Regions from separate parts of the Homo sapiens genome. Here all the other regions are linked to region 1. The links are contacts of gene promoters, found by promoter capture Hi-C in blood cells and fetal thymus (Javierre and others, 2016). All regions are on one chromosome and are shown on one strand. Each heading gives the region's core, a stretch centred on a gene start or on the middle of the fragment in contact. The rest is flanking DNA. Distances are from core to core; before and after follow the strand shown.

Region 1 (4,664 bases), core at 729-3,228:
TGACACTTTCTGGCTACATGTCTAATGGTCTTTTCTCAAGAGTTTCTAGCTGAACATTTTCCAAAGTTATATGAAATAGTTAAGATCCAGAGCACAGAATACATCAGGCTAGCACCTAATAAACAGTTCCACCAGAATATGTATATTTTAGTACTAGATCTAAGTTTTTTTCAGGCCTAAAAGGATTCCTATAACCACCAAAACAAACAAACAAACAAACAACAACAACAACAAAAAAAAACAGCATATGTGAGAGCAGCAAGAGGGACTGCCCAGGCAAAATTTTCTGGAAGAATCTATTTGCAAAGTTTAGGTAATATAAGTCTCTTTCTTAAATGAGTCCAAAGTAATAAGCTACATCTCACAGGAGAAAGCCTCTTCACTTGACTGGAACCCAACCTTCTGCTAAAGGTCAAGGAATCAAAACCTCCAGTAAGATGGTCAGGGCTACCATCTGTAGCTGGGTTGGAAGGAAGGCTTGCTGCTGTGTTACCATAAACCTGAATAAAATGACCTGCCCTGTTTCTCCTTTTACAAGATACTGTGGTTGTTTCTCATATACCATGAATTTCATGGATCCATGTGTCTTTGTGATCACCAGGATCATGAACTTACAAAGCACCCAAGTGAAAACCCCCCGCTTAAGTTAGGTGTTTAAAGAAAGCCGTGCACTCACCACCCCCACTCCCCGATTTTTACCCATTCACTAACACAAGGTTAGAATTTTCCATGCCTAAACTACCATCGTGTGGAAGACAGATCTTTGTGGGAACTGGAACATGATGCTGCATTAACTCTCAAGGATATCCAGTCATTTATAACACCGGCACAACCAACATCCTGGCTTTGTGGATTTGCAAGACAGAAAGCCAGTGAAGAAAAAAATCTGAACTATGAATTTACCTTGAACTGAAAACTGCAGGACAAGGGGACAGTGTTGTCTTGTGGGGATAACTTCTAGCATTTCATTCTGAAGAACAGTTTGTGTGTCACACTGCCACTCTCAACCCCTTTAAAAGGATGAATCAAGACCACAGCACTAAAAGGGACGGGTGGCAGTTGGCTGCGTAATTGGGCCTATGAAAAAAGATCAAGCTAGCAACCAGGGCAATTGATGCTTTCATTTTCCCACACGACGCCAGAAATATGGGAGACATCAGGAACCGGAGCGAAGGGACATGTCAAGTCACCAGTTCCTTTTAATGAACACTCCTGCCGAACCCTTCAGCTCTCGGCCCACTTCCCTCTGATTCCTGCTAACCTTCCCGCTCATTCCAATCCTCTGCAGCCCCTACCCAGCCTTCCGCATCCCTTCCTGCCTGCTACTCACAAATTCCCAACCACTCCTCCCACATTTTCCTCTGTTCCCCCTCCCCTTCCTTCACTTTCCTCCATCCTACATCATTCTCCACTCCATTCCGAACTCAATCCTCATCTGCAATCCTGCAGGCTTCCAAGCCGCCCATCGGTCTCCCGCGAGCTGCCCCCGCAGTCCGGGCCAGCGTCCTCGGTGCCCCTCGCTCCCACGCCTCTTCCCGACTCGGTTCCTTCCCAACGGCACCCGACCTCCCCGCCCCCCGACCGCTCCCGTCCGAGCCTCTCATTTCTGACCCCTCCATCCGCACGGCTCTGGGCTTGACCACTCCTCCACGGCCGCCCGAGGGCCGATCCCGAGAAAGGACGAGGCGGCACCCTCCGCCCCGCACCCCTAGGCCCATTACCGGCCCCGCCGCAGCTGCCTCCTCCCGTGATGGTCTCTGCCGCCCCCGCTGCCGCCGCCGCCCTAGCCCGGTGGGAAGGAGGGAGGAGCGAGCGAGTCCCGGGCCCCGCGGCGACGGCCGGGGAGCTCCCAGGGCGGCAGGGCGGGGAGGGAGGGCGGTGGGCAGCCCAGCCGGCAGGCAGAGAGGGCCGGGCGTCTCCGGCAACTCGGGCGCCCCCGGCAGCAGACGCCCAGAACCGCCCCGGCTCCGGCTAACAATAGGATCCGGCCGCAGCGCACTGGCTCTTATAGGCGCCGGCACGTCCTGACCGAGACCCGGGGCTGGCTGGGAAATGGAGTCTACGGGCCGGCCCACACCCAGCAGCATGCCGGGAGTTGTAGGCGGTAACTGCTGCAAAGCCGAAGCCGGCGCGCAAACCGGCTCCCGAGGCGGCAGCTCTGCTGCAACCTTTTAATGGGGGAAGAGAGGAGACTCAGCTACAGATCTTAAATAAACGAATTCTCCTCCAAAGCTCCCTTTTTCTTTCGTGTCCTGACCACACGCCATTAGGAACATGATCCCCCCTTCTCCTCGCTCATGGGGTCTTAGTCTTCAGCAATATGACTTATTGCAGCCTGCGCAGGTTATAAAGAATACAAGCAATATCTTGAGTTATCTACTTATATGAGGGAGTGCTTTGAGTGTTTTCTTTAAAAAAAAAAAAATTGCTGCCGGGCGCGGTGGCTCACGCCTGTAATCCCAGCACTTTGGGAGGCCGAGGTGGGCGGATCACGAGGTCAGGAGATCGAGACCAACCTGGCTAACAAGGTGAAACCCCGTCTCTACTAAAAAATACAAAAATTAGCCGGGCGTGGTGGCGGGCGCCTGTAGTCCCAGCTACTCGGGAGGCTGAGGCAGGAGAATGGCGTGAACCCGGGAGGCGGAGCTTGCAGTGAGCCGAGATCGCGCCACTGCACTGCAGACTGGGCGAAAGAGCGAGACTCCGTCTCAAAAAAAAAAAAAAAAAAATCTTCTCAACTTTGCAAACTAATTTATTTATTTAAATAGAAAAGGGGTTTTCGCCATGTTGCCCCGGCTGGTCTTGCACTCCTGGGCCCAGGCGATCCGCCCGCCTCGGCCTCCCAAAGTGCTGGGATTATACGCATGAGCCACCGCGCCCTTCCGCAACCTATTTTTAAGAAAGGGCGCCAGGCGCGGTGGCTCATGCCTGTAATCCCAGCACTTTGGGAGGCCGAGGCGGGCGGGTCATGAGGTCAGGAGTTCGAGACCAGCCTGACCAACATGGTGAAACCCTGTCTCTACTAAAAATACAAAAATTAGCCGAGGGTGGTAGCACGTGCCTTTAATCCCAGCTCCTCGGGAGGCCGACCCAGGAGAATGGCTTGAACCCGGGAGGCGGAGGTTGCAGTGAGCCAAGACTGCACCATTGCCCTCCAGCACGGTCAACAAGAGCGAAACTCCGTCTCAAAAAAAAAAAGAAAAAGAAAAAGAAAAAAAAGGGGAAAACCAAGATTAAGAAGTCAAAAGTTGTATGTGATTTGCCAAGGACACATAGCCTTGGTTTCTTCTTTGTTGTCTTTCCCTTGAACTATAAGGCTCGGCAAGCTCGAGCTGCATTCTCTTGTCCCCCGACCCCCACCCCGCCCCCTCATTTTGTTCTGTCATCTTGTTTGCTTCTACTTTCCCCCTTCCATACTCTGCTTGAATACACTGGCCTCATTGCAGCTCCTTCAACTGGGCAATCATTCTCTTACCTCAGGGCCTTTTGTCTGGCTTCCACCAGCTAGCCACATACTTACTCCCTCACATAATATCTGCTCGAATGTCCCCATATCCGAGATCTTCCCTAACCATATTTCTTTTTCCCTGCATTAAGAGACAGGATTTCACTCTGTCACCCAGGCTGGAGTGCAGTGGCGCAATCACGGCTCACAGCAGCCTCAAACTCCCGGGCACAAATGCCTAACCATATTTCTAAAATGGTGCTTCTCCTTAGTTTCTATCCCTGTGCCTTATATTTCTTCTTAGCATCCACGTATTTGTTTTTGTCTTGTCTCACTTGACTAAATTCGGTGAGAGCAAGGAATTGTTTTGTTTACTGTATCCTCAACACACAGTACAAAGCCTAGTAGTTGACATTTAAGAGTATGATAGATATTTATTGGATAGATGGATGGACAGCAGGATTTAAACTCACGTTAGGCTGGTTCCAAAACCTGGTACATTTTTCACTGCAACCAAGAAACTATGAAGCCAGATCCACTAGCTACCAAGCCATCTCAGCTTTAGAAGTGAGAGGCTGGATGGCTTGGGAAAACATGCTAAGAATTTCAGTTCTCTCCCCTAGGTGACATCAGAGACTCCAAGAAGCTAGGACACTACACTGCAAAATAAAAAAGCAGTAGATCAGAAAAAAGCAATCTTTTGGTAACATGCACTTGTCATCTCTCTTTGCTGAAATTCAGAGGCAATATAATGAGTGATCAAGAGCATGGATCCTGGAGTGATCGAGAGCATTGATCCTGGAGCCAGACTGCCTGAATATAAACCCCACTTCCTCTACTTACTAGTGGCATGACCCCGGGCAAGGGACATAAGTTTTCTGCCTTAGCTTCCTCATTTGCAAGCCAGGAATAACGATGTCTATCTCATTGGGTTTTGTGAAGATTAAACAGCTGATATATTGGAAAATGTTTACAACAGTCAGTGCTGTGTAAATGTTAGCTATTTTTAATCATAAGCTTTCTATTCAGTTGTGTAGAAGGTTTGGTTCATGATCCCATTCTTCCTGTGCATACAGAAGACAAAAGGGAAGAGAAAACTATCCTAGACCACTCTATAGAATCAGTAGGCTGAGTAACAAAAAACCAGCCTGATGCCCATGTTGAGGATGCTAAAAAAGTGTCTCATATGCCTACACATCCAGTGTTCCAGCAGTCATGG
Region 2 (4,664 bases), core at 546-3,045, 290 kb before region 1:
GTCACTATGATTAGCCGTCCTGCTTGCTCATTGGCACTTGTCAAAGTTGGCTCCTACTCTCCCACAGACTGGGAGACAGGGACCAAATCTTTTCTTTCTTGGTTACTACATTTACAGGCCCAAAGAAAGATTTCTAGGTTTTAGAATGTCTACATCTCATGGGACAGAGAAAGGATTCATAACAGCAAGTTTTCTAAAATGCTGTAAGAAAAGTGAGGATGGGGCCTATAGTCAAGTTTTGGCTGGAACAAACAGTAAAATTTTTTGGTAGAATTGAACTTTCTCAGGCAGGTGTTTTAAGGGGGCTCTGGTGTCATTCTAGGGACACAACCTTGGCATGACAAAAGCCATTGGTCAAGAATTTGGTCAGTTAGAATGGCATTGTTTGTGCTACAAATGGAGTTTACAGTTCTTAGTGGCTGGATAAATTTTATACAGAATTTCATGACCCTAGGCATTTTGAGGGATGATGAGACTGGGGTTTGTTTAATCTAGTCTTGGGATGAGGAAAAGAACTTTCAGTGAAAGAAGAAAGGGAACAGGAAGGCTGGGTGCGGTGGCTCACGCCTGTAATCCTAGCACTTTGGGAGGCGGAGGTGGGCGGATCACCTGAGGTCAGGAGTTCGAGACCAGCCTGGCCAACATGGGGAAACCCCGTCTCTACTAAAAATACAAAAATTAGCTGGGCGTGGTCACGCATGCCTGTAATCCCAGCTACTCTGGAGGCTGAGGTAGGAGAATCGTTTGAACCCAGGGGTGGAGGTTGCAGTGAGTCTAGATCGTGCTACTTCACTTCAGCCTGGGAAGGAGTGAAACTCAGTCTCAAAAAAAAAAAAAGAAAAACAGGGAAAGCAGTATTCTTGGAGCCCAATGTGAAGAAGGAGAACAGGGGAGCAGGAAGGAAGCTTACTTTCAAGTCCTGAGAAGTAGTCCAGGATTTTATTTTGTGATTTAAATCCAAGAGTAATGGTATGGACCAGAGTAGTCCAGAGGAAGGCATGAGATCTCTGTTAACTGAAAATATTTGAGAAAGCTTTTTGGAAGAGGTAGGACCTGAGGTGAGCCTGGAGGGATGATGAGTGGACTTTTCTTAGTTTAGCATTTTATCATGGTATTTCCATGAAACCGCATCTGATTTCAACAGAAATAAATTACAATTTCATGATTCAGTCATTTACTTGAAATATATATATATATTTTTTCAAGATGCTGCCCGAAGTTGGTGTTTCACTCACTTTTTGTCTCTTGGTTTCTTGGTTAGTTTTCAACCATATCTCTTCAGAATAGCATGTGCTAAAGATTCTCCATGTTTTTGCACAATCAGTTCCTCTGCCTAAAATACCTTCCAGTCCCCTAACTCCTGCCCCTCCATACATACCCTCAGGTAATTGTTAATTATTCAAAACCCAGATGAAATAACACCCTTTCTTTGCTCCCACAGAACAGTACTTTGTAATTTTCCTCTATTATAACTCTTACTCTATTTGTTATAGTTAGTTTGTACTCTCAATCCCTAGTTCAGCCTCTGGTCAATAGAAGGTACCTAATGTTTGGTTAATGATGCGATTAAATATAATCAGCTCTGAAATGTGTTTCCAGTGTTAAGAACTCAGCTATCTTATGTGCATAGGTACAATATATATTTTGTTAATTGAATTTGTATTTGTTCTATTGATGTCATTAAATGGATCTGCGCCAGTGACAATTATACGTCTTCCTGGAGAGCAAGTACAGATTCAGGGGGTCATCCAGACAGCCCAGTCTTCTGTAATTCACCCACCACATGTGCAAATGATACAGAAATTTGAAGACTTAGTGGTCGAGAGTTGGAACTTTTATACCCTGAGTCTTCAGATACATTTCAGTTGCTGTACCTATAATATATAAACCAAGATAAAGTTGTCTTACAAATTAGACTGCAGACCAAATCAGGCAAATAGAAAAGTTTTAGAATTTCTAGTTTCATGTATATAATACCTAGTGAAAATAGAAGACAATTTTAGGGAAAGTTATTGCTTATGATTTAAGGAAATGAGGGACTTTTTTTTTTTAAAGGGAAAGCACCCTTTTATCCCAGGTATTTTCTATATGCTTTATGGAGTTAGTACCTACCTACCACATGCTTTATGGAGGTCAAATAAAAGAGTTCTCTTGTAGTAGAGGAAAGTTCTTATTTGTATTTATCTACCTTCATATTAACACCTTACAAAAGTACGAAAGAAAGAGCCATCCTAGATTCCTTTTCTTTCTACTTTTCCCATTTTATAGTCCCAGAATACCTTTGGTCATCTCTCGTTTTTAGAAGCAGCTCTCCTAGAAGAAAAGCTATATTCCTCCTTTCTTCTCCTGATTATGGCAATGTTGTAAAAACTAGAGCTGCATCTTTATGTGGTACTCCCATGTGAAAGGAGGTGGCTGCATGGATTTTTTTAGTGTTTATATGGAAATTTTAGTCTTATTTGCTGGTGCTGTTATTAAAGATAAATTTTTGATTTTAATTACAAGTAATTCCTTAGTTTTACAATTTATTTTCTTAAGTTCAGTGGAAGGCTTTGGAGTAAGCTTAGGAACAGACAGTGTAGTTAAAGAATTAGATTAGAAATGAAGTATTTTATGGCCAGGTGCGGTGGCTCATACCTGTAATCCCAGCACTTTGGGATGCTGAGGTGGGCGGATCACGAGGTCAGGAGTTCGAGACCAGCCTGGCCAACATGGTGAAACCCCATCTCTACTAAAAAATACAAAAATGAGCAAGGCATGGTGGCAGGTGCCTGTAATCCCAGCTACCCAGCTACTTGGGAGGCTGAGGCAGGAGAATCGCTTGAACCCGGGAGGCAGAAGCTGCAGTGAGCCAAGATTGTGCTATTGCACTCCAGCCTGGGCGACAAGAGCAAGACTCCATCTCAAAAAAAAAAAAAAAAAATTTATGATGCTTGAGGAAAAGAAAAGTGACAGATTTTTCTTAATTATTGGTTATTTCTTAATTATTATTGGGTTATGACTAATTCTTTTCTGTATAATGATATAGATTTAATATGAAATATAAATGAGTAGTTATATACTAGAACTCATTTTTGAAGGAAATAACATATAAAAGAAGCCTCTCTGGAAATTTCATGTCTAAATAGTTTAGGGGAAGGCTTTCTATAGATAGTAACTAATGTGGAGAATTGATTTCTTATGTCCCTTCTAAAGGCCTGTTTGGGTTATTTTTTATTTATTTTTATTTTTATTTTTTTTGAGCGGGAGCCTCGCTGTGTTGCCCAGGCTGGAGTGCAGTGGCGCGATCTCGGCTTACTGCAAGCTCCACCTCCCAGGTTCACGCCCTTCTCCTGCCTCAGCCTCCCGAGTAGCTGGGACTACAGGCGCCTACCACCAGGCCCGGCTAATTTTTTGTATTTTTAGTAGAGACGGGGTTTCACCGTGTTAGCCAGGATGTTCTCAATCTCCTGACCTCGTGATCCACCCACCTCGGCCTCCCAAAGTGCTGGGATTACAGGCGTGAGCCACCGCGCCTGGCCTGGGTTATTTTATTTTTAAAAATTAAGATGAAGTCGGCCAGGCACAGTGGCTCACACTTGCAATCCCAGCACTTTGGGAGGCTGAGGCAGGTGGATCATGAGGTCAGGAGTTTGAGACCAGCCTGACCAACATGGTGAAACCCCATCTCTACTAAAAATACAAAAATTAGCTGGGCGTGGTGGCACGTGGCTGTAATCCCAGCTACTCAGGAGGCTGAGGCAGGAGAATCACTTGAACCCAGGAGGTGGAGGTTGCAGTGAGCCAAGATCGTGCCACTGCACTCCAGCCTGGGCGACACAGTGATACTCCATCTCAAAAAAAAAAAAATTCAGATGAAGTCGGATATCACAATCTAACTTTGGACAAATGTTGGAAAGTTTTAATACGCTTAAAAAATTGAGGCCAGACATGGTGACCCATACCTGTAATCCCAGCACTTTGGGAGGCCTGCTTGAGCCCAGGAGTTTGACACCAGCCAGGGTAACATAATGAGACCCTGTCAGAATAAAAAAAAATGAATTAGCTGGGCATGGTGGTGTGCACCTGTAATCCTAGCTACTCAGGAGGCTCAGGCTGGAAGATTGCTTGAGCCCAGGAAGGCGACGCTACAGTGAGCTGTCATTGCACCACTGCACTTCAGCCTGGGTGACAGAGTGAGACCCTGTCTCAAAAATAAAAAAATTAAAAATATTTAAAAAAAAATTGAAAACAACTTGTTTTCTCAATTGTAAAATATTGCTATAACTTGCATATTATATTGATGTAGTTTATAAAAATTAACATTGTATGCATGCCAAGTGTTGCATGTATTAACTTGTGAAATGAGATAAAATTGAATCATACAGATTTTAAAATGGCATATATTTATACCTGCCATTGCCAGTGACCTCCACCTTGCTAAATCGAATGGTCTGTTCTCAGTCTTTATTTTATCTCAGCTTGTAAACAGCATTGGACATGGTTGATCATTCTTTTCTCCTCAGTATGCTGTCTTCACTAGTTTTCCATGGACAGCTCAATCATTTGGTTCTCTTCTTTACTGGTGACTCCTTAGTCTCATTTGCTGGTTCCTCCTCTTCATCCAGTCTCTTAGTGTTCCTGAGGTTAGTCCTCAGTCCTCTTCTATTTACCCCTATGAGCTC
Region 3 (4,664 bases), core at 698-3,197, 280 kb after region 1:
AATGTATAGCCCTTAGTTCAGTGCCTGGCACATGGTAAGTGGTGAATAAGAGCAAACTGTCATGGTGAATAAGAGCAGTGCCACGGTTAGGGCCAGACAGTCCGGGAAGTGTGTCCTTGCTCCACTGTTGCTAGCTGCATGATCTTAGGTCAGTGTTTATCACTATGAGCCTTAGTATTCTTAGTATTGTACCTGCTTCATAGGGAGTGAGGATTAATCACAATATGTCAAGTGCTTGATAGAGCACCTAACAAATGTTGATGTGAGATGGCACAGGTTCCTGGAACTGGGTAGGACTGGGGCCAGGTTGGGGGCTCACCAGGCTGCGGTCCTTACTTGATGGGGTAGGTTTCATCCTTGCGCCTCTGCTTCTCATGTGGAGGAAGTGTTTCCCAGCCGAAGGTCAGGCTCCAGTCAAAGTTGCCTCGGCTATGGACTCTGCCCCTCTGGACGGGCTTGGCGAACTCAAAAGTATTAAGGTCGATGGTGACGATGTCTGGGCTCACCACCACTGTCTTGTCCTCAGCGATTCGAGCCAGGAGGGGCTCCAGCCAGCCGTGGAAGCACTCACCTGCAGGCCCCAACCAGGAGGCAGCAGTCAGGGCCCTGCCCACAGCAGAGCCCAAGCTGCATCCTGGAGGGAATGCCCAGGAGGATAAGAGACAGTCCACCTACTCCTGGGTTACAGGCAGCAAGCCCCACAGCTACAGGGAGCACACAGAATTTCCTAAAACCCTTCTACCACCCCTCTACCCCCAAAGGCGGAGGCAGCTTTGGCAGGGAGAATGGAGGTCTCAGGGGAGTAACATGGTCAACTCAGATGACCCAAAAGCACAGGGAGGCCCTGGATGGTATCTTCCGGGGTTCCAGCCGATCCATTGGCCCAGCCCTCCGGGCCCACGTGTGGATTTCAGAAGAGGGTGTTCCCCCTCCCAGGGGCATCCGCATGTCAAGCTTCAGCCCTAATTGTAGAAGAATAATCTCTTTCATTTGTCTAGCTCCTTGAGATTTTCAGTGAGCTTCTGCACGTATTATTACTTCATTCGGCCCTCAGAGTAATATTTCTGTTCAGTAAGGTTAGTATCCTCATTCCTATTTTATAAATGAGGAAACTGAGGCTGTTAGTGGGGCAGGGTCAGAATGCAAACCAAGAATTCTGACTCCAAGACTAGAGCTTCCCCTAATATATATCACCACTCCTAGGGAAAATATTTCATCCTCCACAACAGTGGGGAAGTGTTTTGGTTTTGGGCAAGAAGGAGGCCTTCCTGGCTCCATGTTGCCCTAGAAGAAAGCCCCAAACAAGCCAGTTCTGTCATAGCAGGAGGCCTCTCTGAGGGGCCAAGCTCAGAGCAAGGTGCAGATGGGAGTACAGGGAGGGATGAATGTCCGGGGCCCCGGTGATCACTGGAAATCACTTCCAGTGATTTTGGGGTCACCAGTTGTTTTAGGGATGTTTGTCTTCTTGATGAAACATCCTTGGGATTGGGGTGAGAAAGGGGTAGAGGCACCTGGAGTGGGTCCCAAGCCTCCTTCACTCCCGGAAGAGAGAACAGGAAGGGGCCTTGGGGAGGCTGTGGCCCTGGCTCATTCTAGCAGGGAGGGAGCCTCCAGGTTACACCCAGGCCGGTGCCCTGGTACTCACAGTGGGCATCCAGGAACGTGAGCACCTCCGCCTGTGCCACGCTGGCCCCCAGCAGCCGGGCGGTGATCAGCCCCTTCCGCTCCTCCTGCCGCACCACCCTCACCACCTGCAGCTGCTTCACGTACTGCTCCAGCTTCTCCTTTAGGTGCTCTGGAAGGGACAGTGTCATTGTGGCCAGTCCACCACTTTGCTGTATACCCAATCCCCTGTGGGCACCAAGCTAGGGGCTCTCAGGCCTCTAGCAGGCCTGAATTTTAAACCCCCAACACCTGCTGTACTGAGCCATTCCACAGAAGCCGGAGCTGGGGAAGGAGGTTAACAGGGAAGATGGGGAGAGGAAGAAAGAAGCCCTGTCTGTGGTCAAAACTGCCTCACCAGGGCTCTGGCTCTGTGGTGCTAGATCCTATGCCTGTTCACCTGGGCACCCTCTCTAATGTCAGGGACAGCACCTCAGAGTTGTGTTTCTGTGGTCACGTATCAAGTACAAACTTTTTGTTGTTGTTGTTGAGATGGAGTCTCATTCTGTCACCCAGGCTGGAGTGCAATGGCGTGATCTTGGCTCACTGCAACCTCCACCTCCTGGGCTCAAGTGATTCTCCTGCCTCAGCCTCCTGAGTAGCTAGGACTACAGGTGTGTGCAACCATGCCTGGCTCATTTTTACATTTTTAGTAGAGATAGCATTTCACCATATTGGCCAGGCTGGTCTCGTACTCCTGGCCTCAAGTGATTCGCCTGCCTTGGCCTCCCAAAGTTCTGGGATTACAGGCATGAGCCACCACGCCCGGCCCAAGTACAAAATTCTGACAGAGGCTCTCAGATGCCTCCCTCAGTTTCTCCACCCTCTCAGCCACCATCTTCCAGAGCTGCAATTCCACAGCTCCATTGCACGGTTGTTTTCCAGTGTCTAGGATTCCCTGTCTCCCAGGCTCTTCACGGTAACGTCGATGGGTGGGCATACACAAATGGTGACTCCTTGCTTGCTGGATCAGCAGCAGGACATCTGACTCTAATCCCCTTTGTAACCTCCTCTGCAGATAGAATTCTTTAAGGTGAAAACATGCCCAGCAGCTTTTTAATTATATTAAGAAAATACTTGCACCAAGCACCTACCACGGACCAGGCACAGTGGCGAGCCCAGCCGGCTTGACCATTTGTCCTAAGGAACAAACCACCCAGAAGCAAGGCTGACCAGGAAACAGGCAATTCCAGGGCAGGTGATCCATGATCTAACAGAGGTAGTGCTGGGGTGTGGGTCCCAAAGAAGGGCCAAATCTCCTGGATTTGAGGAGCGGGGAAAGCTTTTTGAAGGGAAGATGTCTCTACTGAGACCTCCAGCTCCTTTCAAAGAAGAGTTTTAGTTCATGGCCCTGTAATTTAGTCTGAAATCCTCAGAGCATTAACAATAGCTCTATTCTGGCTGGGCACGGTGGCTCACTCCTGTAATCCCAGCACTTTGGGAGGCCAAGGCAGATGGATCACTTGAGCCAAGGAATTTGAGACCAGCCTGGCCAACATGGTGAGACCCTGCCACTATTAAAAATACAAAAATTAGGCCAGACGCGCTGGCTCATGGCTGTAATCCCAGTACTTTGGGAGGCGGAGGCAGGTGGATCACCTGAGGTTGGGAGTTCGAGACCAGCCTGACCAACATGGAGAAACCCTGTCTCTACTGAAAATACAAAATTAGCTGGGCACGCATGCTTGTAATCCCAGCTACTCGGGAGGCTGAGGCAGGTGAATCGTTTGAACTTGGGAGGCAGAGGTTGCAGTGAGCCGAGATTGCACCATTGCACTCCAGCCTGGGCAACAAGAGCGAAACTCCGTCTCAAAAAAACCAAAAACAAACAAACAAAAATTAGCCAGGTGTGGTGGCGCACACCTGTAAACCCAGCTACTCGGGAGGCTGAGGCAGGAGAACTGCTTGAACCCAGGAGGTGGAGGTTGCAGTGAGCTGAGATCATGCCACTGCACTCCAACCTGAGTGACATAGCAAGACTTGTCTCAAAACAAAAAACAAACGAAGAATAGCTCTATTCTGAAGCAGTCCATCTTGAAACATACCGAATTCCAAACCTTACTATGTTTTACTAACTGCCATTTTGGTTTATCTCTGCCACGGTTCTGTTCTGTGCAGAATGGAGTTGCCTGCAGTTTCAGATGTGGGGGACAGATGTGACAATTGTGTGTCCTTTTCCTTTTGGACTGTGGGATCAGCCCAGAGCTTGGGCCTTGCTCTGAATGCAGCATTCTACAAACGGCAGGTCCTGAAATTAAGCAGCTTAGGGGGTTGCATGCAATTGATCTCCCACAAATGCACGCACACAATAACCCAGCACTGAGCTGGAGTGTGTGCCGGTGTGGGTGAGGTAGGTGTCTTCATGGTGACTTCTTTATTTAATCTTCTCTATGATAGTTAACAACTCTATGAAACAGGGAGTATTGTCCCCAGTGTTTATAGATGGGGAAAGTAAGACTCAAAGTGACTAGCCCAGGGTGGCAGAAGCACAAAGGGCAGCAGCAGGATCCTAGCCAGTCTGCATGTGAGGACTCCCCACCTTCTCCCTCCAGGGGAAGTGAGGCCATGGAATTTTTTTTTTTTTTAATTTTTTAATTCTGGAGCAGATTAAGATCAGAAGGCCAAGGACTTAATGCACCTGAGTTTCAAGGTGGTCTCTTGACCACCAGTGAGGCCACGGACTTTTTTTTTTAAATTTTTTTATTCTGGAGCAGATTAAGATGAGAAGGCCAAGGACTTAATGCACCCGAGTTTCAAGGTGGTCTCTGCTTCCTCTCGCAGTCACCCAAGGCCTTGCCATTTCCCTGTGTGTGAGATCCCGGGAGGGAAAGGGAGAGAAAGGGGTTTGTTGAAGCTGTTCTTTAGTCACTGTCCTGGAGAGTGGCGCCTAGGAGAAGGAAAGTCTCTATAATTTGGAATTTCAGCTTTTTCCTTCTTTTTTTTTCCATGTTTTTTTTTTTTTTCTTCTTTTTTTTGGAGACAGAGTCTTACTCTGTCGCCCA

What was found. Contacts are between HindIII fragments. The CHiCAGO score rates a contact against its expected background, and 5 or more counts as called.
Region 2: a contact is called between a fragment that was not itself captured here and the fragment with the promoter of CSRNP2 in region 1, in 1 of 17 cell types (M1 macrophages). The highest score is 5.4, in M1 macrophages.
Region 3: a fragment that was not itself captured here is called in contact with the fragment with the promoter of CSRNP2 in region 1 in 1 of 17 cell types (erythroblasts); the score reaches 5.4 in erythroblasts.

The regions. Positions count from the first base shown.
Region 1 is chr12:51,081,618-51,086,281 of GRCh38, forward strand. CSRNP2 (cysteine and serine rich nuclear protein 2) reads right to left here and starts at 1,979. Exons shown (of 5, transcript NM_030809.3): 1 at 1,722-1,979. RefSeq lists a silencer at 1,541-2,030 and an enhancer at 2,404-3,030. The HindIII fragment of the contact is 4,493 bases long and covers 1-4,460 here.
Region 2 is chr12:50,790,729-50,795,392 of GRCh38, forward strand. The region is part of intron 2 of ATF1 (activating transcription factor 1); the gene reads left to right. Among named protein-coding and RNA genes, the nearest start is that of ATF1, 29 kb to the left of the region's middle. The HindIII fragment of the contact is 1,529 bases long and covers 1,032-2,560 here.
Region 3 is chr12:51,363,785-51,368,448 of GRCh38, forward strand. GALNT6 (polypeptide N-acetylgalactosaminyltransferase 6) reads right to left here. Exons shown (of 12, transcript NM_007210.4): 5 at 1,646-1,795; 6 at 337-571. Among named protein-coding and RNA genes, the nearest start is that of CELA1, 19 kb to the left of the region's middle. The HindIII fragment of the contact is 1,990 bases long and covers 953-2,942 here.